7 separate regions of the Homo sapiens genome follow, and regions 1, 2, 3, 5, 6 and 7 are each linked to region 4. Evidence: promoter capture Hi-C in 16 types of primary human blood cells and fetal thymus (Javierre and others, 2016). All regions are on one chromosome and are shown on one strand. Each heading gives the region's core, a stretch centred on a gene start or on the middle of the fragment in contact. The rest is flanking DNA. Distances are from core to core; before and after follow the strand shown. Region 1 overlaps OCRL (OCRL inositol polyphosphate-5-phosphatase). Region 2 holds the start of OCRL (OCRL inositol polyphosphate-5-phosphatase). Region 3 has its middle 38 kb from the start of APLN. Region 4 holds the start of ZNF280C (zinc finger protein 280C). Region 5 overlaps OCRL (OCRL inositol polyphosphate-5-phosphatase). Region 6 has its middle 9.3 kb from the start of ENOX2. Region 7 overlaps ENOX2 (ecto-NOX disulfide-thiol exchanger 2).

Region 1 (3,697 bases), core at 317-2,816, 690 kb before region 4:
CATGATCTCCCTGTCTACTGCTCACTGTGGTTAGCACAGAAGAAACTGCTACTTAGAAAAGGCTACATAGCAACGTGGTTAAGCCCATGTCGCTGGAGTCAGACTGCCTCCATTCCAGTTGTAGCACGGCTGTTTAGTAGATGTATGACCTCAGGCAAGTATCTTACCCGCTCAGAGCCGCAGTTTCCTTTCCTGGATTAAGGGGTAGTTGTAAGGATTACATGAGTTAATACATGCAAAGCTCTCAGAACAGCACCCGGCACATAGTAAGCCCTCCGCTGTTAGATGCTCTTATTTAATATTTCAGAGTTGCTAGTTAATTTATATCTCAGAAACCAGGACTTGGTCACAGGATGAATACTCTGAACCAAGGTTGGGTTACCCTCTTAGGATCCTAGGAATGATCAGAGTAGCCTGGAGAAGTAGCAAGAGCCACCTAACTCCTTCTCTGCTGGTGTGAGTATAATAATACATGCAAGTGGATGTTGTGAAGTTGGTTCAGTTGGTGAATGTCTATGGCATTTGCACACCTGCTTAACAATTACCTTACTCCTCATATCCTCTATGGAATAATCCAACTGACTTACTTCCCCTACTAGTGATGCATGTTTGTGTCTGTCTGTTATTCCCCAGTTTGTGTTTGAAAATGTGAAGTTTCGGCAACTACAAAAGGAGAAGTTCCAGATCAGCAACAATGGACAGGTTCCCTGCCATTTTTCTTTCATCCCTAAACTTAATGACAGCCAGTACTGCAAGCCATGGCTTCGGGCTGAACCTTTTGAGGGCTACTTGGAGCCAAGTGAGTTTTCCCTTTACCATTGTCTCTGCTGGTGATGTCATGACTCCCATCCCCTTGGTTTAACTTTCTGTTTTCTAACCACATGTCTCTTACCTTTACTGTCATATTGGTGATACCTCTGGTGTGTGTCCTGTCTCTTCCCCCTCATTGCTTAATGATTTTTTTAGAGGACACTTTTCTGTTGGTTCTTATACTCTTTTTTGCTTTCCCACTGGAGGTTTTCCTATTACCATGTATCATCTCTTACATTTCAGATGAGACAGTGGACATTTCTCTTGATGTGTATGTCAGCAAAGACTCTGTAACCATCCTGAACTCGGGAGAAGATAAGATTGAAGATATTCTCGTCCTTCACCTGGATCGAGGCAAAGATTACTTCTTGACTATCAGTGGAAATTACCTCCCAAGTTGTTTTGGCACATCCTTAGAGGCTCTGTGCCGTATGAAAAGACCAATCCGAGAAGTTCCTGTTACCAAACTCATAGACTTGGTAAGAACTGTCCCAAGACATAAACCTCTTTTACATTTAATTTTCACAATACTTAAGTGACGTCCTCATTATCTTTGTGCTTTCTGTCTTCTTTTGGCCACGGGGGATGTCAAATGATAAAGAAGAATGTTACTTTAGCACTGTTTTGATTAGATTAAGCCTAAGGGGAAAGAGGGGGGACTAATCTGCAGTTGGCTCTTGTTGTGAGTACAATACATAATACTAAGCTCACCAAATAAGATTAAAGACTCCCCTCTCAAAGATATAATGCTTGTTTGTTAAGCTCTTCATACTCTCAAGTCACTTTTGTATAAATTAGCATGTACGTGAGGTATGCTAAGTGGGGCAGGCAGAATTATCCTCATTTGAGCATATGAGAAAACTGAGGCACAGAGACATTGACGTGCCCAGAGTCAAATACCATCAGTTAGTAACAAATCTAGCACCCAGATTTCCTGGCTCCCAGTTTAGTATTCCTCACTAATACCACATTATATCTAATCAGAGTAAAACTTTGCTATTTATGGAAGCATAGAACTATCCTGGAACCCTGGAGTACCTGAATCAGAATCCCTGGGGGTGCTTATTACAGGTACCCTCACTTCTGGCAATGGAATCAGAATCTCAGGATATGGAGCCTACAGATCTGCATTTTATCCGCATTCCAGATGCTTATAATGTACATTGAAATTTGATACTTACTTAATGTGATGTGCTTAAGAAAGAAAAGGAGGTTGATTTTCCCACCTCTCCCTCAAGCCAAGCTATAATATTAATGTTTTTATGAAGGAAGTACTTACTATCTTCAGTAACATAAGTTGATTTAGTAATAAAGTTCATTGTATTAAGAAATTTCCTTCTAAATGAAAATATTGTTGGATTGTATGCAGAATCTCTTTGGGCTACAAAAGTATATTCTTGGTTTTTTTACCAAAGAAAATTAGGTGAGGTGACAGCATACGTTATCCTTACCATTAGTATTCACATGGATCCTTTAGGCCTAGCCAGAGCGAGTGATTGTATCTAGCAGGGAGGTCTAGACCAGCAGGCAGGCTGCTGGCTTGTCTGAGTCCGATCTGTTCTGTTGCCATGGAATTGTTTTAGCTGTGACTCAGATAGCAGATTAAAACACTGAGTCCAGCCCCGGCATTCTTTCTTGGAATTATACTTATTTCCCCAGAGCCCTCATGACTGAGTATATTACCTCTGTTTGAGAGAGAACCATTTTCTTCAGAAATTCATATCCTACCGTTCTGCTGTTTTTCATGATAATTGTTTTTCTCCTAACATTATATTTCTGTCTTTTAGATTTTAGTATTTCACCTTTTAGAATACATTTTGGATGATGAAGTTGTTTTTCTTATTTCTCCTACCCCCTTTCCTTCATCTCAGACATTATTTCCCAGCTTTCTTTGTTTCAGCTTTTTATTATGAAAAATGTCAAATGTGCAGAAAAATGGAAAGAACAGTACAACACACCCCCACATGCCTTCTGTACATATATACACACAGATGTTTTTTGCTGTGTCATGTAAAATTTAGTGGTAATATGTCACTTCACCACTGAACACTTCAGCCTGCATCTCTTAACAAAAAGGGCACACTTAAGCACAATACCATTATTATGTATAAGAAAACTAACAGTAATCCATAGTATCATTTAACATTCGGTCCATATTCAGATTTCTTCAGTTGTCCCAAGAATTTCTGTTATACCTTTTTTTAAACCAAAATCCAATCTGGGTTCATATAGTATTTGGTGAGGTCTCTGAAGTCTCTATTGGAGTAGTACAGTTCCTACTTTCTTTAGTGACATTGACTTTTTTAAGAGTCCAGTACAAATGTCCAGTCAAGGGTCAACCATTTCCTAAATTTTTCTGGTTGTTTCCTTCTTGTTTTTTTTTTTTTTAAACTTATCCCATTTATACTCTCTCCTTCCACCTTCATGTAAACAGGAACCTACCCTTATTTTTAGTCAGAGTCAGTGAAGATATTAGAATATCTTTGCCATTAATATGAAAAACTGCAAAGCCATTAATATGAAAAACTTTGCAGTTTTTCATATTCTGGGATTGGCCAGAAGAGGCTCAACCCTCATAAAGTTTTTATTTTATGTAAAGTATACTATCAGGTAATTTTACCATGTTTGCCCATGAACAGAAAGGAACCAAAATCATTAGAGGAATGAATGGCTCTTTGGGAAGCCTTTTTCCTTCTTTTTGTGCACAAGTGATTGAGGGTTAAAATAATAGAACCCTGATCATTTTTAATTACAGAATTTCTGAGTTTTTATTAAATTGTATGTGTGTGGACATCATTTTTCTTTTAAAGCTTTTATTTTGTAGGATTTAGGGTTCTTTTCACAGTCTGTTGCATTTCAGTGTTATTAAATTCCTGTATCTCATTGA
Region 2 (3,804 bases), core at 1,065-3,564, 730 kb before region 4:
CTACCAACTTAAACTCCTTCTAGCCGTAAATCAGAGTTCCACTGCTAGAACTTCAACAACACTTGGGGTTGTCTGACTTTTTAAATTTTCACAAAACCGATGGTTGTGAAATGGTATCTCGTGGTTTTACTTTTCAATTTCCCTGAATAGTAATAAAGTTAGGCATCTTTTCATGTCTTTATTGGCCATCTGGGTTTCCTTGACTATGAATTACTTACTCAGATATTTTGTCAATTTTTCTATTAGGTTTCTTTCTTATTTATAGGAGTTCTTATATATCCTGGATACCAAGTCATTCATTCATTTAATCAATATTTTTCTAGCACCTACTTGGCTCCAAGAATGGTTCTAGGCACTGAGAATGCAGCTATGATCAAAACAGACAAAATCCTTGCACTCATGGAACTCAACATTCTAGCGGGTGAAGGTAAATGACCAATAATATTGATAAATAAAACAGAAGTGGTAGATAGTGATACATAAGCAGGGAAGAGGGATAGGGAACATGTATGTGTGGTGATGGAGAAGGGGATTGTTGAATTACAATTTTCAATAAAGTGGTCTAGGAAGGCTTCAGTGAGAAAGTGACATTTGAGCAAAGACCTGAAGGAGGTGAGAGTGCATGCAGAGTGAACAGCAAGTGTAAAGGCCCTGAGGTAAGAGTGTGCCTGGCAAGTCCTAGCAACAACAAGGAGTCAGTGTGACTAAGCAAAGCTAGTTAGGGAGAGTGGTGGGAAATGGTGGGAGATGTCCGAAAGGTGATGACAGCTTGTCTTTTTTTTTTTTTTTTTTTTTTGAGACAAGGTCTTGCTCTGTCACCCAGGCTGGAGTGCAGTGGCGCCATCACAGCTCACTGTAGATGTGACCTCGCTGGCTCAAGGGGATGCTCCCACCTCAGCCTCCTGAGTAGCTGGGACTGCAAGCACTTGCCACCACATCCAGCTAATTTTTATAGTTTTTGTAGAGACAGGGTTTTGCCACGTTTCCCAGGCTGGTCTTGAACTCCTGGGCTCAAGTGATCCTACCACCTCGGCCTCCCAAAGTGCTGGGATTACAGGCATGAGCCACTGTGCAGGCCAGTTTGTCTTTTAACTTGTTTATATTGTCTTAAAGTACATACATTTTGAAATTTCATGTAGCTAAATGTCTTATTCTCATTCCATATTCCAAGCTCATACTCAATTTTTTTTTCTGAAAGTTATAAAGTTTTGCTTTTCACATTTAGATCTTTAATCCACCTGGAACTGATTTTTCTTCCATGGTTTGAGGTAGGGGTCTAATTTTTATAATTTTCCATATGGATAAGCAGTAGTCCTAGTACCACTTAGTGGATAATCCATTCTTTCCCCACTGATTTGAAATGTCCCACACGCTGCATATCAACCTTCCGTATATGTGTGGTCTGTTTGAGGGGTTTATATTGTGTTTCATTGATTGTCTATCTCCACAGCATACTTTTAATTACTACAGATTTACAGTCACTCTTGATATCTAGTGTATTATAGATTCTGGAGCAAATGAATAACACGATCGAAAAATTACTTTGGGAAAAATATTTTTATGGCTGTCAACAGAGTAAACATGTCAAAGGAAAGAGTAAACCCAACAGGATTTATTTAAAGAAAAGTGCAATAACCCAGATAGGCTATCACAAGGGCTTACAATAAAGTTATGGCAGTGTGAATGGAGAGAAAATAAGGAATCTAAAAGTAATTCCACGTAAAATATTAACAGGGTGTGTTGACTGATTGGATATAGAGATGAGGAGGGGGAAGACGATATATGGCTTTCCAGTGAAATGATAATGAGTTAGTTTTGTGACGCAGTGATGTGTTAACAATGGACTCTATTAGGTAAGAGGTCTGGGCCAGGGATATATATTTGGACATTGTCTAGTTAGAGGTGAACTGGAGGGGACGCAGAGGAGGAGCAAAGGTCTGGGCTTTGGGGAATTCTCCGATTTAGGGCGTGGAAGAAAGAAGAGGAAAGGAAATGGTAGGATAACCAACACGGGACATTATAACCTTAAGAAATATATATATATATATATATGTATTTTTTTACTGAATGATGTGGGTCGTATTGACACAACAGGTTTGAGATCTCCCATAGGTATGACTGTGTTTTGTTTCTGTGGCCTTCAAAGTCCTCAGAACAATTTTGATGTCACAGGTGGCATTTAAAACCCATTCCTTGCTGGACCTGGTAGAGACGCCCCCAGTCCGTCAGGTCTCTCGCTGCAGTTCCGCAGTTTGACCGCAGGGGACGGAATCTGCGGCGGCCTGGAAAACTGGCGGGGGCGCGAGGCGCCGCTCTCTCTTGGGTCAGATTCTCAGCTCCCAGCTCCCCGCTCCCGGCTCCCGGCGCCCGGCGCCCGGCGCGGAGCTGTTCCTCAAACGACACGCAGCCGAGGTGGGTGGGTGTGGGGACGCGGGAGCCAGTGTCGTCGGATCGGCCCGCAGTCCGCTGTCCTGCTGAGCCCGGAGGCCGCCTGGATGGAGCCGCCGCTCCCGGTCGGAGCCCAGCCGCTTGCCGTATCCGCCGGAGAGAAGGGAGAGGGGAGGCCGCGCAGGGCCGGGGGTGGGGGTCGGGGGCCCTGCGGAACACGGTGGGGCGGGGCAACCGGGTGGCCCAGAGGCCGAGCAGAGAGGGGGAGGGGGCCGGCGCGGGAGACGAAGCAGGGCGGGGCGGGGCGGGGGAGGGCGGCGGTGGGGGGGGGGTGGAAGACCCCCTTCGCCCCGCAGTGCACCACTCCTCCCCACCGCGCTTCCGAAGGAGACCCTTGACTAGCGCCCGCATACTGTCGAGGGTATGGAGATGAAGGGTCCTCTCCGGGAGCCCTGCGCCCTGACCCTAGCCCAGAGGAACGGGCAATATGAGTAAGTAACCACCTGATTCCCACAGAGGAGGGGAGCCTGCCATTACCTCCCAACCCCAAACCGCGACGGGTCACCCACTGTCCTCCTACTGAAGCCACGCGGGCAACAGGTTCAGGTCCAGGTGTGAAGTGCCAGTGCTCTCTAACCTCGGGGCTTTGTCCCCAACTTCCAAGCCTCTGGATTGTGCTTGGCAGTGTGGCTCAGTGGAAGGACTGAATGGGCGGGGAAGCAGGAAGCCTGGGTTCTTAGTTCCTGCCCCTGCAACTGACATGTGTTGTGTAACGTTGGGCAAGTCAATAAAGCTTTCTGGGCCAAAGTTAACTCTTCAGTTTAATAAAACCATTAACTGCCTTACCTTACAGCCTTTGGAATTATAACTGGGGGAAAAATAAATGCGAGAGTGGCTTCCAAAAAGTAAAAGTGCTATGGAAATGCTTCATTGTTAACGTTACAGACTTGTCTTAACCCTATTCAGCTGGTTTCTCCAGTCTCCCCGTCCCCTTATCCCACTGGGTTGAAGGCATATTCATTAATTCAGTAATGGTTTAGTGTAGGCCAGAAACTGCCTCACTTACTGACTTTACTGTTAGAAAGAAAAGGTAATGAAATGTGTAGAGATAGAAATGACAGTATTTTATCAGTGTGTCACCTTCCTCTCTGCCATAGGAGCTCCGTAAATACTGTTGACTGATTGATCAAAAGATTATTTTGATAAGCTATCACCATAGCTGCTAACCTCACTCTATTGTCACTAATATCTTATCTCAAAAATATCCATGGTGACCATTACGTATCATAGGCCCCTATCCCTGTGTGCCCAAGACACCTCACTTGGATATTCATTGGCTTCTTGACATCATATTCCTTCCCAGTTTAAAAATTGTTCACTTAAATCTTGCCATCTCCCAACATTGGCTTCTGCCTA
Region 3 (3,501 bases), core at 52-2,551, 650 kb before region 4:
TGAGGCATTGGCCTGGCTTGCCCTAGATGTTCCTCTTCTTTTTGAGCCTGCTTGTGTTTGTCGGCTATTGGGTGAGGCTTGGCACAAGCAGTTGGGCCCAAGGGCACCCACTCATCCCTCCTGGGCTTGGAAAGCTGCTGTGCTGAAATGACCCCACCCCCATGCCCCTCCTGGGGACAGGGGACAGTCAAAGAGCCACTAGAGGCTCCCAAAACTCTCAAAGGGGCAAACCCTCTCCCCAGAACCTTATCAGTTTCCTGGTGCAGGCACTGCTGAGGACCTCAGCTGTTGTCTGTCCTTCTGGGTTTCTATGTTTAGTGTGAAGGCAGCCCTGGCACAGGCCTTCCTTCCCCTTCCAATCCGCAACAGCCTGTGCTCTGCATTGCAGCGTCACTTCCCTGCTGGAGGTTGCAATGTTTGCACCAAAAAGATGGCTTTCAAAGCCCAAGGTGTGTGTGCGGGGGGAGGGGTATGTGCACACACACAATGGAAGGGGGGCTGTATCTCAGACCCTCACATTTCATGGATTCATATGTCTTTTGCTCTGAGCATAAGGCTATTGAAGTCACAGTCATGGATTCCTGTTCTTTCGTTTATTCAACATTACAGCATGGGGTTACCAGCCTGACTACTAGCATCACATTGACTTGACCTTGAATATTAGCCCAACCATCTGCTTGCCATACGACCTTAGACAAGCTACCTGTAACCTCTCTGAGTGTTATTCTCATCTGTAAAATGGGACTCAAATGCAGTACCTTCCTTGTAAGGTTGTCAAGATTAAATGAGATCATCTTTGAAAGGCATTCAGCACCATGCCTGGCACACAGTAGGTGTCTCATAAATGACAGCTGCTATTACTATTAATTAGCCAGGGCTTACTGCACACCCATTGTGTGCCAGGCACAGTGCTAGGTGCTGGCAGAGTTAGCAAGAGGAACTCAAAGATGAGTGAGACAAGGCCCAGCTTGGCTCCATTCCTCACCCACATGTGGCTGCCCCAAGGCAGTCACCTCATCCAAGGGACCTTGCAGCTGAGTGTGCAAGCACCTGGGCCCTGGCGTGGGACCCAGTGGGGTTCAGGCCAGGGAGTGTCACCAGATGGGTGCAACACCCATACCCTTACCCTCACAAATGCCCCCCGCCCCACGCTGCCAGAATGTCACCTGAGTGCTGAGTGCCGGGCCTGCCCCACAGGGCATTGGGACGGAGGGCTCAGCACCAAGGCAAGGAGCTGCTCTGTGGGCTGGTCTGGACACAGTGGAGATCTGGGTCAGCGTTTTTCTGAGTGAATTCTTTTTTTTTTTTTTTTGAGTCGGAGTCTCCCCCTGTTACCCAGGCTGGAGTGCAGTGGTGCCATCTTGGCTCACTGAAGCCTCTGCCTCCTGGGTTCAAGCTATTCTCCTGCCTCAGCCTTCCGTGTTCAAGCGATTCTCCTGCCTCAGCCTCCCGAGTAGCTGGGATTACAGGCATGTGCCACCACGCCCGGTTAATTTTTGTATTTTTAGTAGAGACAGGGTTTCGCCATGTTGGCCAGGCTGGTCTTGAACTCCTGACCTCAGGTGATCTGCTGGCCTCGGCCTCCCAAAGTGCTGGGATTACAGGCATGAGCCACGGTGCCCAGCCTTGGGTCAGTGTTCTTCTGTTTACCCTCTTCAGTGTCTCAGCGGTTGGCAAGGCATCATCACTCTCTACCTTTTCTTGGGAAGTGGATTCCCCTCCCTGTCAGAGACTCTTCCTATTATTTTGGGGCCCCTTTCTCTTTCACACTCATTCACACACTCCCCAATCTATGTCCTCAGTCACTACTAGCCTTAGTGGTCAGTGGATCCCCATGGCGAAGGGGAAGCTCATTGGATCATAGCAATATAGCTCACTCGCCCACAGGGCGTGGCCCACTGGAAGAAGAGGAGAGGACAGGACAGGACTTGGCCTCTGCCTTGCCTGATGGATTGTGTTATCTCATGCAGGAGGGAGTGGGGAAACCCATGTGGCATTCGATACACAGCCCAGTGCTAAACTATGCAGTCTGAGCTCTATGCTGTCTAAGAAGAGGGCAAGGGCAGTGAGGGCCATAGCAAGGAAGGGAGACTTGAGCTGAATCTCAAAGGAGAAGAAGGATTGGGATGGGGTGGCAGACTCCAACCTGGGTCCAGGGGGATGTGCTCAGCTGTCTGATGGCTGGAAGCAGAGACCCATGTGCCATGAGGAGTGAAGATGTCCATTAGGCCCAGGTGAGAGGTGGAGCATGCGAAGTGGGGGTCAGGGCTGGGGGCAGAAGAAAGGCATAGAGGAACCATTGGCCAGAAGGTTGCAGAGGCCATAGGGGTAGCCTTTTTCCTCCAACTCCCATTCTATTCTCTTTTTAGCCTTTATTTTCCGCACCATTCCCCTCCTCTACTCTCTTTCCCTTTTTTGGGGTCTCTTTGTCACCCTCCTCCCTTTTTTCTGAGTCTCAGTTATTTTATCTGCAAGATAAATGTGCTCATCCTGGAAGCTGGTGATGTTGCCTCTCCTGCTTTTCATTCCAATTCTGAGATCTCATTCAGCAAGAACTGCTGTCTTAGGGCTGCTCTCCCAGGACTGGGCCCTGTTGGCTCCTGTGGATATACATCCACCAGCAGAAAAGCCTGAGGGTCCAGGCCTTGGGATCTGTGCCACTGCTTGCTGGGGGTTGCGGGACAAGCCTGTTTTGCTTCTCACTCAGGCTGAAGACAGGTGAGGATGCCAAGTCCAGAAATTGCTTTGCTTCCAGCATCAAATGGCTTCCTCTCAGCAGCACAGTCCCTTTAAGATGGCGGGGGGCGGGGAAGCTAGAAGAAGACCTTTGATGTTGTTCAACTGAGAAATCCATCAGGTGGGAACAAGCCCGGAAATGCCAGAGTGAAGGGCTCCGTGGTTGGCTGCATTGGTGGGTCTACTGCCTGGACTTTGTTTTCTGATGGTAAACGTTCCCTGACATAAACACAGGCAGAGCAGGGAATAACAACATTCAGTCCCCAAACAAACAAAACAGGAATGGGACCTGTCTTGCACGGGGAATGGCTCTTGTTGCAATGATATAGCTCAAGAGGCCTTCACTGTGGAATTTCCTGCCTTGAGCATGATGAATTTTCCATTCTTGTCCTCGAATGAACAGTCGCCATAGAGCTTAGTGGCTGGCCTGTGAAGCTCAGCAAGGCCCTCTGGGAAATGGGCAGCTTCGCCTTGGCTGAGCCTGGTCAGAGGGGCATGCCTACCTTTCCTTGAATCAGTTGCTACTGTACGCCTTAAAGTGCCATGAGAACCATCATCCTCAAATGCTTAAAGACTGAGCTTAAAGCCATCTTCCTTTTCTACCTCATCTTTATTATTATTATTATTATTATTGTTATTATTATTATTTTGAGACAGAGTTTCATTCCATCACCCAGGCTGGAGTGCAGTGGTGTGATCTTGGCTCACTGCAACCTCTGCTTCCCAAGTTCAAGTGATTCTCCTGCCTCTGCCTCCCGAGTAGCT
Region 4 (3,891 bases), core at 828-3,327:
GCTGGGCATGGAGGCTCACTCCTGTAATCCCAGCACTTTGGGAGGCCGAGGTGGGTGGATCACGAGGTCAGGCGTTCCAGACCAGCCTGGCCAACATAGTGAAACCCCATCTCTACTAAAATTACAAAAATTAGCCGGGCGTGGTGGCAAGGGCCTGTAACCCCAGCTGCTTAGGAGGCTGAGGTAGCAGAATCGGTTGAACCCGGGAGGCAGAGGTTGCAGTGAGCTGAGATCGCGCCACTGCACTCCAGCCCGGGCGACATTGCGAGACTCCGTCTCAAAAAAAAAAAAAAAAAATTACTGAGGAAATCAAATCTTTTTGAATCACTACTTAAGACAAACTCACTGAAAACCAAGTAGCTGAGATTTGGAGTTATTCAACCTAAGAACTTTTTCAATAGGATATTCTTCAACTCTTCAACATGCTTAGAAATAATATTAAAGTATGAAAAAGTCGAAAAAAAATGAAGCCTTAAAAATAAAAATATAAAGGAAAAAGGAATTGAATAATACTTCTTAAAACTTTTAAGTGAGCCTCCTTGCTTATTCTCCGTGACCACCTCACTCTCACAAAAAGTGAGACATAATATACCAAATTGAACATTGGATGAGGGTCAGAAAGCCTAGGTTTAAGAATTGGTTCCATCACTTCCTAGGCACATGACCTCGGTAAAGTTCTGTCCTTGAGGCTGTTTCCTCATCTTCAAACAGTTCTAACGACACCCTACAGCCCATCTCAAAAGGGGTGCTACCAATGAAATATACAAATGCAAGATACGATTATAATGGAATCTGTACTGCTGTAGAAACATCAAAGGTACACAGCCCTAATTTTACAAGCAAATCAGTGCCTTTGTAGGCTCAGTGAAGTTTCTGCGTAAGGAGATTAAGTTTGCACAGTAACCCCCAAACCAGGACACCTCACAAATACTAAGAGGAGACTTTTGCAGTTTAAAACTCTACTTCTAGGTTTCTATTTTATGTTTAGGGGCACTAAAAGACATTACAACTCATAGTCCAAACCTGAAAACAATAGTAAAAAAAATTTAAGGTCGCAGATTTAAAAAACTCCACAAAACTAACAAATCTTTCCAAACAAAGAGAATCCCCTGGATGAAGGTCTCCCGTGCTTGCAGAAGCTGGTTCACTTGACAATTTCCTCTCGAATTTCTCCTTAAAAAAGCATTAAAACCTGAGAGAAGTTGAAAGGAACTCCCTCCATCTCTAGAGCAGGAGTATACCTCAGCATAATTTTTTCCATCTCTTTAAGTAAAACCTGCAAACCTCCTAGTTAGAATATAGTGTATTTAACTCCACGTTTCTCCTCAGGGCTCTTATCCTCTAGACAATAACGGAATAGAGCACGATTTCTGTGACAGAGAAGGGAAGTCCCTTTGGCCAGAACAAGGTTGTGGGCATGGAATGACCGGTCCTGTGTGGGGGGAACCTGCGCAGAAAGAAGGGGTCACAGGGTCTCTGATGCCTGAAAGTTCGGAATCCCCTCAAGTCTCTTTTCGTTTGATTGAAGAGACTTGAGGGTGGGCGGGTCTCCGTCAAACATCAGTATCAACCGTACAAAAGACGAAAGGGAGTTGCCTCCAGAATGAAAAGCCCAAACCGGGTTGGAAACAGACCGACAGGACTCAGGAGGTGAGAAGGCTGCCGCAGCTGCCGCGGCCCGCGAAACCACTGCCCGCCGCGGGCCGCCAGGCTCTACCTCCAGAAAACCCTCCCCCTTCAGGGCCCGGCGCAAGATGGTGGCCCACCAGCTACCACGCCGCCAAGCCTGTCCCCTCCCCCGCACCCCCGTCGATCCGCACCGGCATAGAGACCCTCAGCCAGCCGCCCTCAGAACCGCCCTCTGGGGAAGGCTGCCTCGGCCGCGCGGGAGAGCTGCTGCCTCCTTCCGCGCGGCACAGGCGGGGGCGGGGGCCGCTTACCGAGAGCAGAGCAGATCGGTCTGACTGGGGTTCGGATAAGGAGGAGGAGAAAGAGGAGGAGGAAAGGGAGGAGCGCGAAAAACCTCAGGCGACAGCCTCAGCAACAGCGACTCCCCCGGAGACTTCCAGCGCGGAACCGGCGTCTCAGCCGGGGGCAGAAGTATATAACTGCACGCGCTGCCTCATGGGTAGACGCCGACTCCACCCCCTGAACATCCGGGGCCTTTTAACCGCCCACGGACGGACGGCTGGTACTTACATGTGCACATGTGCAGCTACTTTACTTACCGTCGAAGGCAGCGGAGGAAGTGTAATTGACTAGCGTGGATGCAGCTTTTCTAAGCAAACGCTCGATTTAACCTGGAGTTGTCATCCCAAAAAATACATTGTACCTGACTACAGAGAAACATGAATTCTGGGTCTTCCTTGTGTGTGAGGGCTAAAGACACGAGTTAAAAATATAAATATATTGTTTTCTGGAAATACTGTACTTGAAACACGTCTCAAAATACTAGTTATTTTTACCTTTTGTTTTAAACATATGGTTTTGCTTGTCTCTCTGTTACTTCTAATTGCCATATGGATGCCTATAGTAGGTACAAAAAATGCTAAGGAAAAATACATTTACTCTTACACACAAGGAAGACCCAGAATTCATGTTTCTCTGTAGTCAGGTACAATGTATTTTGTGGGATGACAACTCCAGGTTAAATCGAGCGTTTGCTTAGAAAAGCTGCATCCACGCTAGTCAATTACACTTCCTCCGCTGCCTTCGACGGTAAGTAAAGTAGCTGCACTTGTGCACATGTAAGTACCAGCCGTCCGTCCGTGGGCTGGCCGCGGTGGCTCACACTTCTAATTCCAGCACTTTGGGAGGCTGAGGTGGGTGGATCACCTGGGGTGAGGAGTTTGAGACCACTTCCCTTTCCTCCTCGCCTTTCTCCTCCTCCTTCTCTGAACCCCAGTCAGCCTGACCAACATAGTGAAACCCCATCTTTACTAAAAATACAAAATTAGCAGGGTGTGGTGGCACATGCCTGTAATCCCAGCTACTTGGGAGGCTGAGGCGGGAGAATCACTGGAACTTGTAAATACATTTACAAGAAAAACACTTGCCAAAATACTGCTTACAGAAACATTTTCTAGACATTGTGCTTTGAACTGTAAAAGTTTCTTCTCCCAAATTTCTCCACAAGGTTTATAGCAGTACTGGTTCATCTCTCTTTTTCTTTTTTGAGACGGAGTTTCGCTCTTGTTGCCCAGGCAGGAGTCCAATGGCGTGATCTTGGCTCACCGCAACCTCCGCTTCCCGGGTTCAAGTGACTCTCCTGCCTCAGCCTCCCGAGTAGCTGGGATTACAGGCATGCGCCACCACACCCGACTAATTTTGTATTTTTAGTAGAGACGGGGTTTCTCCATGTTGGTCAGGCTGGTCTCGAACTCCCCACCTCAGGTGATCTGCCTGCCTCGGCCTCCCAAAGTGCTGGGATTACAAGCGTGAGCCACCACGCCTGGCCCAATTCATCTCTTAAGAGTTGCCCAGACTGAAAATATCGTGTGGCTTACATAACACACACGTAAATCCTGTCACTGAATCCTACCATTTTTTTTATTTGAGCTAGTTTTTTCTTTCTTATTTATACAGCTATTTGCTTCTGACCCTGAAAATAAGCTTTACAGGAAAAGACAGAGAATAATCAAAATAAAACAGTGAAAAGTCCCAAAATCTTGGAGCATGCATAGTTGGTCCCTGCTTCCGGTCAGGGTGATAAGAAAGTCCGGGCACCTTTTCCTTTGATGCCAGCAGGAAATTTAAAACTAGCAAATCTACAGCCGCATGACTCTGCTTTTGGCTGTAGTGGGAAATTTAAAACTTGTGATTCTCCAGCCTGCCTCCTTCTTTGGCATTGGTGGGAAATTTAAAACTGGCAACAAAAATTGGTGCAGTTGA
Region 5 (4,094 bases), core at 730-3,229, 670 kb before region 4:
GGAAAGACTCTGCACCTGCTGTCTTAGGGAAGAAATGGTTCAAATCCATGTGGTGACATTGCATTAGTCTCCCTTTCACTGTTTTCTTATTCTGTAATTGTTTGTTATATTTCCCAAAAACGTCTTGATCACTAAGCAAAGCTGCTAGTGGGATTCTATATTTCGTGTCATCTTTTTTATTATAATTTATTGCAAATTTTTTTCTGAATAAATATATGTTGTGTGAAAAAGCAAAGTGTGATTTTGGTGAGGAAGCACTCAGAAGGGAGGGCTTATGTGTCACTGGGTTCCATTCGACTTGACTGCAGTCCCCATCAGCTGTGCCTGCACTGTCATCACCTGTCTTACAGGGAAATACCATTTATAAGAATTCTTAGTATATTCACCCTCAGAGATGAGAAGAAACCATGCGTTTTCAGAGGCTAATAAAGGTGTCCTGTACTTTCAGAGGCCAGCCAAGTACCCTTATTTTAACCCTAAGGATTCAGGCAACAAAACAACTCAATTAGAGGAAAGGATGTTGATTCTTAATGCATGTAAATGTCACACTAGGTCAGATCTGTGATCCCTCCGGCCCCAGAAACAAACCCTAAGATACACATCTGGGGAGAACCCAGCTACCCCTGCTCAGTAGTCTCAGTAGTTTAGACGCGCTTCCCCAAAGAGCTTGTTTTCACATAATCCTATTTTGCAGCTTTTGAAAACCAGTTTTGAACTTTTATGACTTCTTGGGGTGATCAAGTCCATAAATTTAGTACTTTTTTGTTGTTCTAATCTGAACTGCCTAACACGTTGGGAGGAAACCGCTGATTTGAGCATGGTGCCAATGCTTCCCTGCCAATCTCCATTATGAATTTGTGGATTCTGATTCCATTCCCTTTGAGACTGAAGAAGCCTCAGCTGGAGGTTTCTTCTCTACTAAGGCCCTCTTCCAATTCCCTCCAACTGTGAGCTTGACCCTGATGAATGTGCTGACTCAGTGTTGTCATAAACAACTTTCAAAGCCCCACCCAAAGCCTTGGCAGGAGAAGGTGTTTCTTTCTGAGAGTGATTTTCCCCCCAGCAGATGGAGACTGACACCAGAAGTTTTTACATAGTAGCAGGCAATGAGAATAGCAGGCAGGTGGTCAGTCTTTCCAGAGGTTAGAGAGGAAATGGCATCCCCAGCTGTGAGGCTTCTGTTATAGGAGACCCATTAGGACCTTTCTGATTGCAGGGCAAGTTGAAGAACTGGCTCTTGGTGTAGCCTCATAATGTAAAAGCCACACATTGCAACAGTGGCATCACTAAATGTTAGGGAGAGAACCTTAGTGGTGACCTAATCCAATCTCATTGTTTGGATAGGGAAAGTCTCAGAGGGGACAATGACTGACCTAAGGTTACTTAGGTTAGTGACACTGCATGGCATAGTGGCATTTGTTTTTTCAAGCAGTTCTACTCTGCTTGCCCATTAATTCCTTTGGTGGCATCTTATCAATTTCCGTGGCTGTAAATGTCTGTAATACCCCTGATTCCAAATGTTACGTCTCCACCTCATAGCTCTCTTCCGAGTTCCTGCCCAGTATATCCAATTAGTTAGCTGGCATCTCCCCTCAGATGTCTCACAGGCATGTCAAGCTTCACACGTCCAAAGTGGAATTCTTTTACTTCTGGTTCTTTTACTACCACCCAACCTAGATCCTCTACCTGTCTTCCCTCAGCTCAGAGAATGTCAACACCATCTGCCCAGTTGCTGGGGCTAAGCATCTAGGAGTTAGCCTTGATTTCTCTCTTTCCTACCGACCGACCACCTCAGCAACGTGCCCCACGCGTCTGCTTTTCATCACCCCCACTGCCAATTTTATTGGTCAAGGCCACCACCATCATCCCTTCTTAGGGTGTCGTCATGGCCTCCTGCCTAGTCTTCTTTCTCTCTCTCTCTCTTTTTTTTCTTTTTTGAGACAGGGTCTTACTCTGTTGCCTCAGCTGGAGTGCAGTGGCATGATCGGCTCACTGCTGCAGCCTGACTTCCCAGGTTCAAGCGATGCTCCCACCTCAGCCTCCGAGTAGCTGGGACTGTAGGCGCACATTACCAAGCCTGGCTAATTAAAAAAAAAATAATTGTAGAGGTAGGGTCCCCCTGTGTTGCCCAGGCTGGTCTCAAACTCCTGGGCTCAAGCAGTCCTCCCACCTTGGCTTCACAAAGTGCTGGGATTAGAGGCATGAGCCCACCATGCCCTGCCTGGTCTTTTTAACTTTGCTGCCCTCCAATCCATTTTCCACGCAGCAGGCAGCATGACTTAATTACATCAGTCTCATCCCTCCCCTGTTGATAACCCTTCAGCGACATTTACAATGAAACCTAAGCTTCGCCATGGCCCACCAGGCCCTGCATCAATGGGTCTCAAATCTTCATGTGCAGAAGAATCACCTGGATACATTGTTAAAAAGCAGATTCCTAGGCTCCAGAAATTCTGAGTCAGTTGGTCTGAGAGGAGGCACAGGAGTCTGCATTCTAAATCAGGACCCAAGAGCATTTTGATGCAGGACCACACTTTGAGAATACCACCCTAAAGGATCTGACCTCTGCCTACCATAACCCTTCCTCACCCCTGCCAATATACTCTGATACTGTCCTTTTACTCCTCCCAGTGAGCTGAACTCTTTCCAGCCTCAGGGCCTTTGCATGTGCTGTTTACCCAGAAAACTCCTTCCTCTCTCTTTCTTGCCTCAGTCCCCATCTTTGCTGTGCCTAACCCTAAGTCACCCGCCCTGTCCCATTGACTCTCTGCCCTCATTCCTGGGCTTCCTGGTATAGCATGCTGGCTGACTGCCCCTGGGCTTGCCATGTACTCTTCCACAATCTTCCTCTTCCTCTCTTGATGACCTCACGTACCTGCTCCACGGGGCCTGGGGAGGCAGGAAGCTATAGTGGTTCTTCACATAGGCTCTAATGACCAGACTGCCTGAGTTCAAATCCCAGCTCTGCCACTTCTAGATGTGTGACCCTGATCAAAAGTTAATTGACGTCTCTGTGCCTTGGTTTCCATGTCTTTTCTCTCCAGCTTTATTGGGTATAATTGAGAAGACAAATTGTACGTATTGAAGGTGTTTCCACATCTTAAAAGTAATGATAGCACCTTTCCTCATAGTATCATCATGAGGATGAGATCAGATACTACATTTCCAGGCCTTGGAACAGTGCCTGGTGCCTAAGTGCTAAATAAATGGCAGCTAGTGCAATTATTCCCAAGCCCTCCATGGGCCTCCAGGCCCAGAACCCGCTTCTGCTGCCCTTCAGCTCCCAGCAAGTGACTGTACCCTTTACTTTGTGAAAATGTCAAAACAGCCTTGCCCCCTGCACATCAAAATGTCTTCAGCTTAACCTCATCCCTCCCCCTTTCCATCTGTCTGAGAATAAGCGGTCCTCCTCGCCAAGACCAGCTCTTCCACCTGCACTTTTGAGCCCTTCTCCTCCACCCTCTCTGGACTTTTCCCCATCAACCATCACTCCTCCTCCTACATCTCAGTATGGGTTATTCACTTGACAAGTATTTGTTGAGTGGCTCCTGTGCGCCCTGTGCTGTTCAAGGTGCTGGGGATCTAGAATTAAACCAGACAAGGTTGCCGCTCTCATGGTGCCTTCATCAAGAGGGCAGGGCAGGGATGAGGGTGGACAGACATGCAAATTAACAGTACCCAAGGTCACTACAGATCCTGACAAGTACTGTGGAGAGTATCAAACGGGGATGCACTCGAGGGTACAGCGGGGGGCCTTGGTCAGGAAAAGTTTATTTGAGGAGGTGATGTTTTAGCTGAGACTTAAACCTCAGGAAGCCAAGACACCGTATCTTGATTTGAATACCCCCAAAAAGAGCCACACGTGCAAGATCTGGCAAAAGACATTCTGAGCAAAGGAAAAGAGAAATGCAAAGGCCCTAAGGCAGCAAAACAGCTGGCTGTGCTCAGGGGACAGCCAGGCAGAACTCTGTGAGGGACAGGACTTGCTGGACAACTGATGAGCAGGAACGTGATCACAGAGGGCCTGAGGAACCCCAGGCAGGAGCTTGCATTTCATTCGACACCACAGGGAGCCATGGCTGGCTTTACTCAGG
Region 6 (4,113 bases), core at 605-3,104, 640 kb after region 4:
AACTGGTGACCAGGGAGCTGGTAACCCTGGGAAGTAGATATGTGCTTCTTGAAGGACAGACATTTTTATAAATTGTGGAATTAATGCAAGTTGGAAAACCTTGCAAAAAATGGAAAGTCCCATTTGGTTTTTTGTTTGTTTGTTTTGTTTTGTTTGTTTTTTGGGGATTTTTTTGAGACGGAGTTTCGTTCTTGTTGCCCAGGCTGGTGTGCAATGGCGCGGTCTTGGCTCACTGCAACGTCTGCCTCCTGAGTTCAAGTGATTCTCCTGCCTCAGCCTCCCAAGTAACTGGGATTACAGGCACCCACCCCCACGCCCAGCTAATTTTTTTGTATTTTCAGCAGAGACGGGCTTCACCATGTTGGCCAGGCTGGTCTCAAACTTCTGACCTCAGGTGTTCCACCCGCCTTGGCCTCCCAAAGTGTTGGGATTACAGGCATGAACCACCACACCCGGCCAGAAAGTCCCATTTGTTAAGCTCTTACATCATGTTCTTTTTGCCAGTATTGGTTTTCCTGAGCACCCTTTCTAAACCATTCCTCATCTTGCCCCAGGCTACACTGATCTCCATTATATCTCACTCACTATATGTTCAATAAATATCTATGGAATGCATGTTTGTTTTTACTTACATTCTCCCATGGAGGCTCATGACAGTCCAATATGATAAGTGTTGTTATCCTCATTATACAGATTTTAAAAAGCTGTTAAGCTAATTAAGAGATTCAAAAGAGCCACACAGCTAGTAAATGCAGAGCCAGGTTTCAAATCCAGTTTTATCTGACCCCAGTCTACTGTGCTTTTTGCATATGCCACCTGGCCCATATAACATATGTGAGATTTACATCTCACCTTGACCCCTTGACTTTGTCAACTTTGTCTTAATTCTTACAGCAACTCTAATTTTTCATCTGGAAAATTGGGATGAGAATAATATTAATACCCATTTCTTTTCTTTTTCTTTTCTTTTTTTTTTTCAGAGATAGCGTCTCACTCTGTCGCCCAGGCTGGAATGCAGTGGCGCAGTCTTGGCTCACTGCAACCTCCGCCTCCTGGGTTCTAGCAATTCTCCTGCCTCAGCCTCTCAAGTAGCTGGAACTACAGGTGCATGCCACCATGCCTGGCTAATTTTTTTTTTTATTGTAGTAGAGACAGGGTTTCACCACATTGCCCAGTCTGGTCTCGAACTCCTGAGCTCAGGCGATCCTCCTGCCTCGGCCTCCCAAAGTGCTAGGATTATAGGTGTGAGCCACTGCGCCCGGCCAATAGTACCCATTTCATAAGATTGTTATGACAATTAAATGAGCCAATACATTGAAAGAACTTGGATTCATCAGGTTCATATTATGATGATGCCCTTTTTGGAGTTGAAAAAACATGTTCAGAGAGTTTATTTTCTCAATATCACACAGCTAGTAGGTAGCAGAGTGAAGAGTAGAATCCAGATGGGTCCAACTCTCAGTTGAAGGCTTTTGCTGGTTTCTCAGGCTGCTTCTGAATACCTCAGCCTCCAGGAATGGCTTTTGATGGACATTTTGGGCTTCGGTGCAGAGTGACACAGGGAAGGATTTAGTGGGAAGAATATGTTAGTTTTCCACTGTGTCATTCCCTACAGTGATTTGAACCTGTGAGGAACTGAGAGAGTGTACAGAAGGGGGCATATCATCATCTCTGTGAGGGTACATGTAGCTTCTAGGGCACCCTCTCCATGAGAATCACTGAGTGTAAAATGTAAGTTCGTGATAGTGTGTTGTGTGTGTGAAGAGTATGGGGGCAGCAAAAAGGTGGATGACCACTGAGGTAGGCCTCCATGCTTTTCTCTATGCCCAAATATCAGCCTTGCCAACAGTATTTCCAAGGGACTGTACAGCCAACTTTCCATTATTTCTACCGTCTGCTCTTGGCTTGGCTTGGCTTATCTACATTGTATCTGGCATCTACGTCTTTCCCCAGGGAGTCTATATGCTGTGGACAAGAGGGATTGATTATGTTCCTGCCTTCAGTATGGCTAAACAAGCTCCTGCTGGGCCTGTGGGACACTATTAAGCAGACCAACGTTGTCATAAATGGAAACTCCAGCAGGATAAGAGAGAGAGAAAGGGGCACAAAGAATATCTGAATGACCAAAAATATCCCAAACCTGATGGAATATGTGAATCTACATATCTGAGAACTCAACAAAATCCAAATAGACAAACTCAAAGAGACCTATTTTCTGATGCTATGGTTGACGCACATTCTTTGGCTATAGTATAGCACCTATTCTCTAGTTAAAATCTTGTGCATAATCTCAGTACATGGAAAGAGCAAATCAGAGTGCTCTATTCCAGTCCTTTACTTCCTGATGCGACTCATGGTCAAAACTTGACCCTGGTATATGCAAAGCTCAAATCCCAAGATCATGTTTTCTGCATCTATAGTAGATACAACTTTGCTTTACGTGATCCATAACCTTCCACTCAAAGTGATAGGCACTTTTGGGACTTCGGGCTGGAAGACGGGTATAATCTCTGGCTGGAGAAAAGTGAAGACTGGGCCACCAATTCACAACCAAGGAGGCTTCATCAGGATCTCATTAGTGGGTCTCAACTATTTTTCTTTGCTTTCATTCTTGAGCTACCAGACCATGGGCCATGACCCATTATCTATAAATCCAATAATCTCAAAAACCGAAAGTTTTCATAAGTTTACCACCAAAACTCATTAGGTAGCAAAATGTGACCTGAATCAACATAAGGCTACTTACAGTCTTCAACCTATTTCTATGAATATTCATTTTGATATAGAAATACTAATGTGTTTGTAACACCTACCAGGGGTATTATAGACCATGTATATATACCATATTACCTTTCTAAAATCTCTCAAATAATGAATTTCAGAAAACATCGGCCCCTAAGTGTTTTGTATGAGGAATTTTGGATATGTATTTCCTCTCCTTGCTGTCTCATTCTAATGTCACGTTCCTCACTTTATCCCATACCTGGCAACATCTGCCAAGGCCAGGGAATGGGAACACTGAATGCTTTTGCAGTAAAACTTCATATCATAAAATAAATAATGATGAGTTGAATTAGTATGACAGAGGAGGAAGTGCTAAGAAAAATATCTTCATGTTTTTCCTCCATCGTAGGTTCAGATCCAAAAACATATTCTCCCATACCATATTGACAAACTCTCCAAGGTTCTCCACCTAAAGACCCATTTGTAATCCAGCTGAAAACAGACAGGGGTTGGATGCTAACCTCAAAACCTGATTACTGCTGCTGCTGCTACTACTACTACTACTACTACTACTACTACTACTATTACTTGTACTACTATACTAACATTGAGTACAACTTGCCAACTTCTTGTTCTAGAGCTTAGAATCCAAGCTCTTTCAATATATTGGCTCGTGTAATCGTCATAACAATCTTATGAAATGGATACTATTATAATTACCATCGAAATTTTACAAATGAAAAAAACGGAAGCAAGAGAGATGAAGTCATGTATTCAAATCCATACAGCTAAGAATTAGCCAGGCAAGGATTTTGATGTACCTCGTACTTCCTTTGCATCTTCACTTTATTTTGAAATTGACTTATGGCATAACCTAATGGACTTATAGACAGGGGGAGAAGTATGATGGGCTATGGGTCTGGGGAGCCAATCACCCATCCTCACCTGCCAGGATCCAATGAGGCTAAGGTGTTTTCATACACATTTTTTTCTATGGAGTCTGGAATGTGGAATTCATTATGCAAATTTCTTGATGTGATGATTTGGCTGGAAAAGCAGGTACTATGGAAAAGTTCCCCCACTTATCTCTAAGGACTACTCTGATGTAAAATATTATGTGTTGATGAGTATGTTTTTTATTTGCATGCATGGGCATACATTTACATGCATGATTCTGTGTCAGTCAGCATGTATGTGTTAAGTATAGTACATTGGTTCTCAAGCTTTAGTCTAATCTCAGATACCTGGGTAAAATCACAAATACTCCTGGGTCCTATGCTCAGAGATTCTGATTCAGTTCAGTTGGGGTGGGACACAACAGCTTGTTACTTGCACCTGAAGTGATTCTAATACAGGTGGTCTGTGCAGACTACATTTTAAGAACAATGG
Region 7 (4,085 bases), core at 686-3,185, 620 kb after region 4:
AATATTTTCCATGTAAATCTATTTAATTTTATAGTGGAGAAAATAAGACAATCTCTGGTTTTAACCGTAAGAAAAAAGCCTCAACAACTTCTCACATTAAAATGTACACAGAAGGCTCTTCTAGAGTCAAGCATGCATTGGAATACAGAGAAAACATCCAGCAAGCACAACTTTCCAACACTTAGCAGAACCAACCAACCAATACTCAAAGAAGAAACTGAAGCTATAAATTCAAATAAATGGGCTGCAGGGAGACTACACAAACCTGCTGTTGCTTTAATTGCAGACAATTCAATTCAGCAGCTGTTGGTCCAGGCACTAAGGTTCACTGTATGCTCTTCAACGTAACCTTGAAATATTGTCACTCACTCACTTCTCCACATCATCTGCATGCTGTCCAATTAATGAGGAGCGAAATCAACTGTCAAACCACGCATCAAAATAGAACATGATCTTTTAGCTGTTAAGCGTAGGAGCATAATATTTTAAGAATAATAAAGCAACAATGGAGATGAAAGTCCTTGACAACAAATGATATTCAAACTTATCAAAACAACGTGGTTGTAGGAACTAAGCTTCTGTTCTGTGAAGCAAGAAAGTGAAACTTTCTCAGGGTTTTTCATTTGCAAGGGACCTTTCTGTCTAACTGCTGTGTAAGAAGCCTTTCAAAAAACATTCGCCCATACCTGATCAGAATCTTCTTCATTATTATGGACCATTATGTTTCTGAAAGCTTAAGAGAATACTTAAGAAACACTTTTGATCCAAGGATATTTTACAATACAGATGGTTTGGGGCTCGTATTTGTAGCTTTGCTGTTTCCAGCACTTTTTTTTTTCTGTCAGGAGAATAAACAAACAACAATAATATATAATGTTCATCAACCTGAGTTCAGTAATGAAAAATAACTAAATTTACCAAACAGATGTGTCCTGGAATGCTTCCTGTTTGAAGTTTCCCTACTCTTAGGTATATCCCAAATCTATACAACCAATTAACAAATACAGGAGTTAATAAACTCTAGAGAAACATAACACACTAAGTGTTTAAAAATTGCTTTTTGCTTCCAAAGCACTGTCTTCTGTGCAAACACTCTAAGCTATATCACATACTACCAGTTGCAGACATAAGACTTGAGAAATTCAATACAAGAATACAGCAGAGAAGCGTGCACAATTAAGGGATCGGGACTACCAGTTTAACAGAAAACGCAGATTTTATACAGCAATCTGCTACAAACATTATAGCTGGGGGCAGGCATGTTTTATGCAGCTATTTTGTTTAGCTCATTAGAACCCTATTTGTCCTTCAGTACAGTTGAACTGAAGGAAAAATAAAAGAAAGAAATGCACTTTGAAACAAAGGGGAAATTCAGATAAAACAAAACATACTATACCTGTATATTGTACCAGGAACATTGTGACACTCTTCAGGGAACTGTTTCACGTTGTATCCTATCGTGAGTTATTCTCTCCTTACCCTCTTCTCTCCACAAGAAGAAAAGCCAAAGCACCCCAAACCCCCACTATACCCTATCCCTAACCCACCCACCCCATTGAGGAAAAAGAAAAATAGCTATAATTCAGCTTAGATCTGACGCTTCTGTTTAGCTCAGCTCCAGCCGAGCAACTGAGCTTCAGCAACGGAGCATAGGGAGGAGGATTCTGATGCCAGTAGCACTTCCATCCACTTCACTTACACAAAAGCAGGCAGTGGAAAATCCAGGAGCCTTGAAGACAAGGGCTGGAACTGGCTTTTATGAATTGCTATTACTGCATGTGTCACCATCCATCTCCAATGACGGACACTTATAGGCTGAATTGGGAGTGGAGGGGGTGGGGTGGAGGAGGTTGGAGAGCAGGTGGAGAAGCAATTAGCAGTATGTTCATTGGAGAATTCGTTCGGGATTTCATACATCAGTGCCTAAAGAAACAGCATGCAGTTGACAAATCAGAACTTTACGATTTGCATGCCTTGGAAGAAATCTTAGCTCACAGCTCCAAACAAAATAATGTTTGCCCACTCTTACAGGGCACAGAAAGTCACCCCTTTGCTTTTTCTTTCCTCTGGCTACCCTTATTCCTGAGAAATCAACATTCAGAATGAATATTTGCTAATTTTCCCTAAAGAATTGTATTTTTAAAAGGCTGGAAGCAAAGGAAGTATAAAGAAATTAAATTCTATTGAACATGACATCTCTTAACACAAAGGCAAGAAGCTAATTATTTTAAGGCAATTCTTCATCCCTAGTCCCATTCCCCAAGCGCAGCTTTCACACCTATAATCAGTGGATCACACAACTTTTGTCCATATATTTAACACTGAAAAACAAATCTATGTCTACCTAAAAATAGTTCAGTTAAAATGAAGGTGAAAAGCCAAGAGCTATGTGCAGGACCCACTTCATTAGGTGACTTGAGAAAGCACTTTACATGTAAGTGCTTCAGTTTTACTCATCCACTAAACTAAAGCTCATTTTTAGACGGATTTTAAAATTAATCACGAGTAGGAACAAAAAGGAGATAGTGTCTTTGGGAGGAAACATGATACAACCGAAGGAGCACTGGGGCTGGGTATCAGGAAACCTGGGTTCAGCTTCCAGTTCTACAACTTTCTAACTATGTGACTCTGGCCAAGTCACTTAACTTCTTTGAGCCTAAGTTCCCTTTATTTGTTAACTGGAGATAATAGTACCTATCCTGACTGTCTCACAGGATTGCTGTGAACAGCTAATGAGATAATAGGTATGAAAACCCTTTTGTAAATTGTAAAGGGTTATACAATTGTATGGGATTATTACTACCATGCCCTAAACAAATCTTGCCTTAATGATTGAAGTGAGGCACCTCTATCACATAAGGCAAATAAAAAGAAAGAACTAATATAATTTCATGAAACACTGCTCAATTCTTACAATTTTTAAATTAGACGGAATCGCTGTTTGCTCTTAAAATTCTATAGCAGGGAACGTTTTTGAGAAAATTTTAAAATAATACATCAAAAGTTTATTAAAGAGACTGGAGCCCTCTAAATTCTCTCTTTCCTTTCTGGAAAGTCAGTCCATTTTTCTTCATATGGTCTAGCATTATGTCCCATCTGGAATGCAAACTACTAGATAATGAGCATCTCCTTTTGTTCAAGCTTTCTATTTGCCTGTTACATCCTCATTGCCCAGTGTGTTGGGGGAGGATTCAAGGTGATTAACTAAATCTAAATCCACAAGGTAAAAATCCAAAGTTATGCTTTATGAGGCTCCAAGCTGCCTTGATCCTATGTATACAGTGACCAGCTGGCTTCAGCTGGGACACAATTTTAGCACATGAAGTCCTGGGGTGGCCACACCTGGGGCACTAAATGATCCAGGCAATGTTTGGGGATCTTTGGTTCAGCCAAATCCCACATGTCCTGATTTCCATCTGTATGGTGGTTCCCAAGTGTGTTTGTCCACATGAACCAAATCTGAAGCAGCCAAAAGAAAGGTGGGGGATAGAGCAGGGATATCAGATGTCAGCTCCTCTTGGTCCCATCCAGTGCTATCTGTGCCCTCAAACAAGTGCCCATCCTACTTCTTGTAAGAAGAAAGAAAACTTTTTCTAATTGCCCCTTTGAACGTCATTGCTACTACTGAAGATGCCAGTAAAATATATATCCAAAATCTATGTTAAGCCAATTGGGAAAAGGATAATATTAATCACATAACAGGTAATTGGTAGCTAAGAGCAAGTGAGCTGCTGAAAGGGGGAAGGGGAGAAAAAGACAAGAGAGGAGGAGGGAAACAGAGGGGAGGGGTGGAGAAAAGAGAAAATGAATCTAAAGTGAGAGCTTTCTAATCAGAAACATACTTGCTGAAATCATCCAAAGTCTCACCTACTATAATAAAAAGTGCTTGTCTTTTGAGGTATTGGGAGTGGCCCCCTAACCATCAAAGCTGCAAACCTAGCCTTCCAACTGCTTAGGGAAACAGTCAAGAGCCTGAAAAGGTACTGACAGCCCTAGCACCAGATCTCACTTTCCTCTGCCATTCAGAAAGTGAGTCAGGTGGGATACAATTCTCCAGAGGCCTCATCCCTGCTACCGTCCACCAC

Evidence for each region. The method cuts DNA at HindIII sites, captures the fragments that hold promoters and counts their contacts. A CHiCAGO score of 5 or more calls a contact.
Region 1: a fragment that was not itself captured here is called in contact with the fragment with the promoter of ZNF280C in region 4 in 1 of 17 cell types (total B cells); the score reaches 6.3 in total B cells.
Region 2: a contact is called between the fragment with the promoter of OCRL here and the fragment with the promoter of ZNF280C in region 4, in 12 of 17 cell types (activated CD4 T cells, M1 macrophages, non-activated CD4 T cells and 9 more). The highest score is 16.0, in activated CD4 T cells.
Region 3: a contact is called between a fragment that was not itself captured here and the fragment with the promoter of ZNF280C in region 4, in 3 of 17 cell types (total CD8 T cells, activated CD4 T cells and neutrophils). The highest score is 5.4, in total CD8 T cells.
Region 5: a fragment that was not itself captured here is called in contact with the fragment with the promoter of ZNF280C in region 4 in 3 of 17 cell types (activated CD4 T cells, M1 macrophages and monocytes); the score reaches 7.3 in activated CD4 T cells.
Region 6: a contact is called between a fragment that was not itself captured here and the fragment with the promoter of ZNF280C in region 4, in 2 of 17 cell types (naive CD8 T cells and total B cells). The highest score is 6.1, in naive CD8 T cells.
Region 7: a contact is called between a fragment that was not itself captured here and the fragment with the promoter of ZNF280C in region 4, in 1 of 17 cell types (total B cells). The highest score is 5.2, in total B cells.

What each region holds. Positions count from the first base shown.
Region 1 is chrX:129,575,264-129,578,960 of GRCh38, forward strand. It overlaps OCRL (OCRL inositol polyphosphate-5-phosphatase), which reads left to right. Exons shown (of 24, transcript NM_000276.4): 17 at 634-799; 18 at 1,054-1,289. Among named protein-coding and RNA genes, the nearest start is that of OCRL, 37 kb to the left of the region's middle. The HindIII fragment of the contact is 4,103 bases long and covers 1-3,618 here.
Region 2 is chrX:129,537,945-129,541,748 of GRCh38, forward strand. It overlaps OCRL (OCRL inositol polyphosphate-5-phosphatase), which reads left to right and starts at 2,315. Exons shown (of 24, transcript NM_000276.4): 1 at 2,315-2,534; 2 at 2,800-2,879. The coding sequence starts at 2,496. RefSeq lists an enhancer at 2,148-2,442 and silencers at 2,159-2,218, 2,329-2,528. The HindIII fragment of the contact is 8,325 bases long and covers 1-3,179 here.
Region 3 is chrX:129,614,730-129,618,230 of GRCh38, forward strand. No RefSeq gene overlaps it. Among named protein-coding and RNA genes, the nearest start is that of APLN, 38 kb to the right of the region's middle. The HindIII fragment of the contact is 7,528 bases long and covers 1-3,501 here.
Region 4 is chrX:130,266,822-130,270,712 of GRCh38, forward strand. It overlaps ZNF280C (zinc finger protein 280C), which reads right to left and starts at 2,078. Exons shown (of 19, transcript NM_017666.5): 1 at 1,941-2,078. RefSeq lists a silencer at 1,779-1,858. The HindIII fragment of the contact is 6,334 bases long and covers 1-3,610 here.
Region 5 is chrX:129,592,327-129,596,420 of GRCh38, forward strand. OCRL (OCRL inositol polyphosphate-5-phosphatase) reads left to right here. Exons shown (of 24, transcript NM_000276.4): 24 at 1-230. Among named protein-coding and RNA genes, the nearest start is that of OCRL, 54 kb to the left of the region's middle. The HindIII fragment of the contact is 729 bases long and covers 1,616-2,344 here.
Region 6 is chrX:130,910,490-130,914,602 of GRCh38, forward strand. No RefSeq gene overlaps it. Among named protein-coding and RNA genes, the nearest start is that of ENOX2, 9.3 kb to the left of the region's middle. The HindIII fragment of the contact is 4,182 bases long and covers 1-3,945 here.
Region 7 is chrX:130,885,818-130,889,902 of GRCh38, forward strand. All of the region lies in intron 2 of ENOX2 (ecto-NOX disulfide-thiol exchanger 2), which reads right to left. Among named protein-coding and RNA genes, the nearest start is that of ENOX2, 15 kb to the right of the region's middle. The HindIII fragment of the contact is 2,408 bases long and covers 732-3,139 here.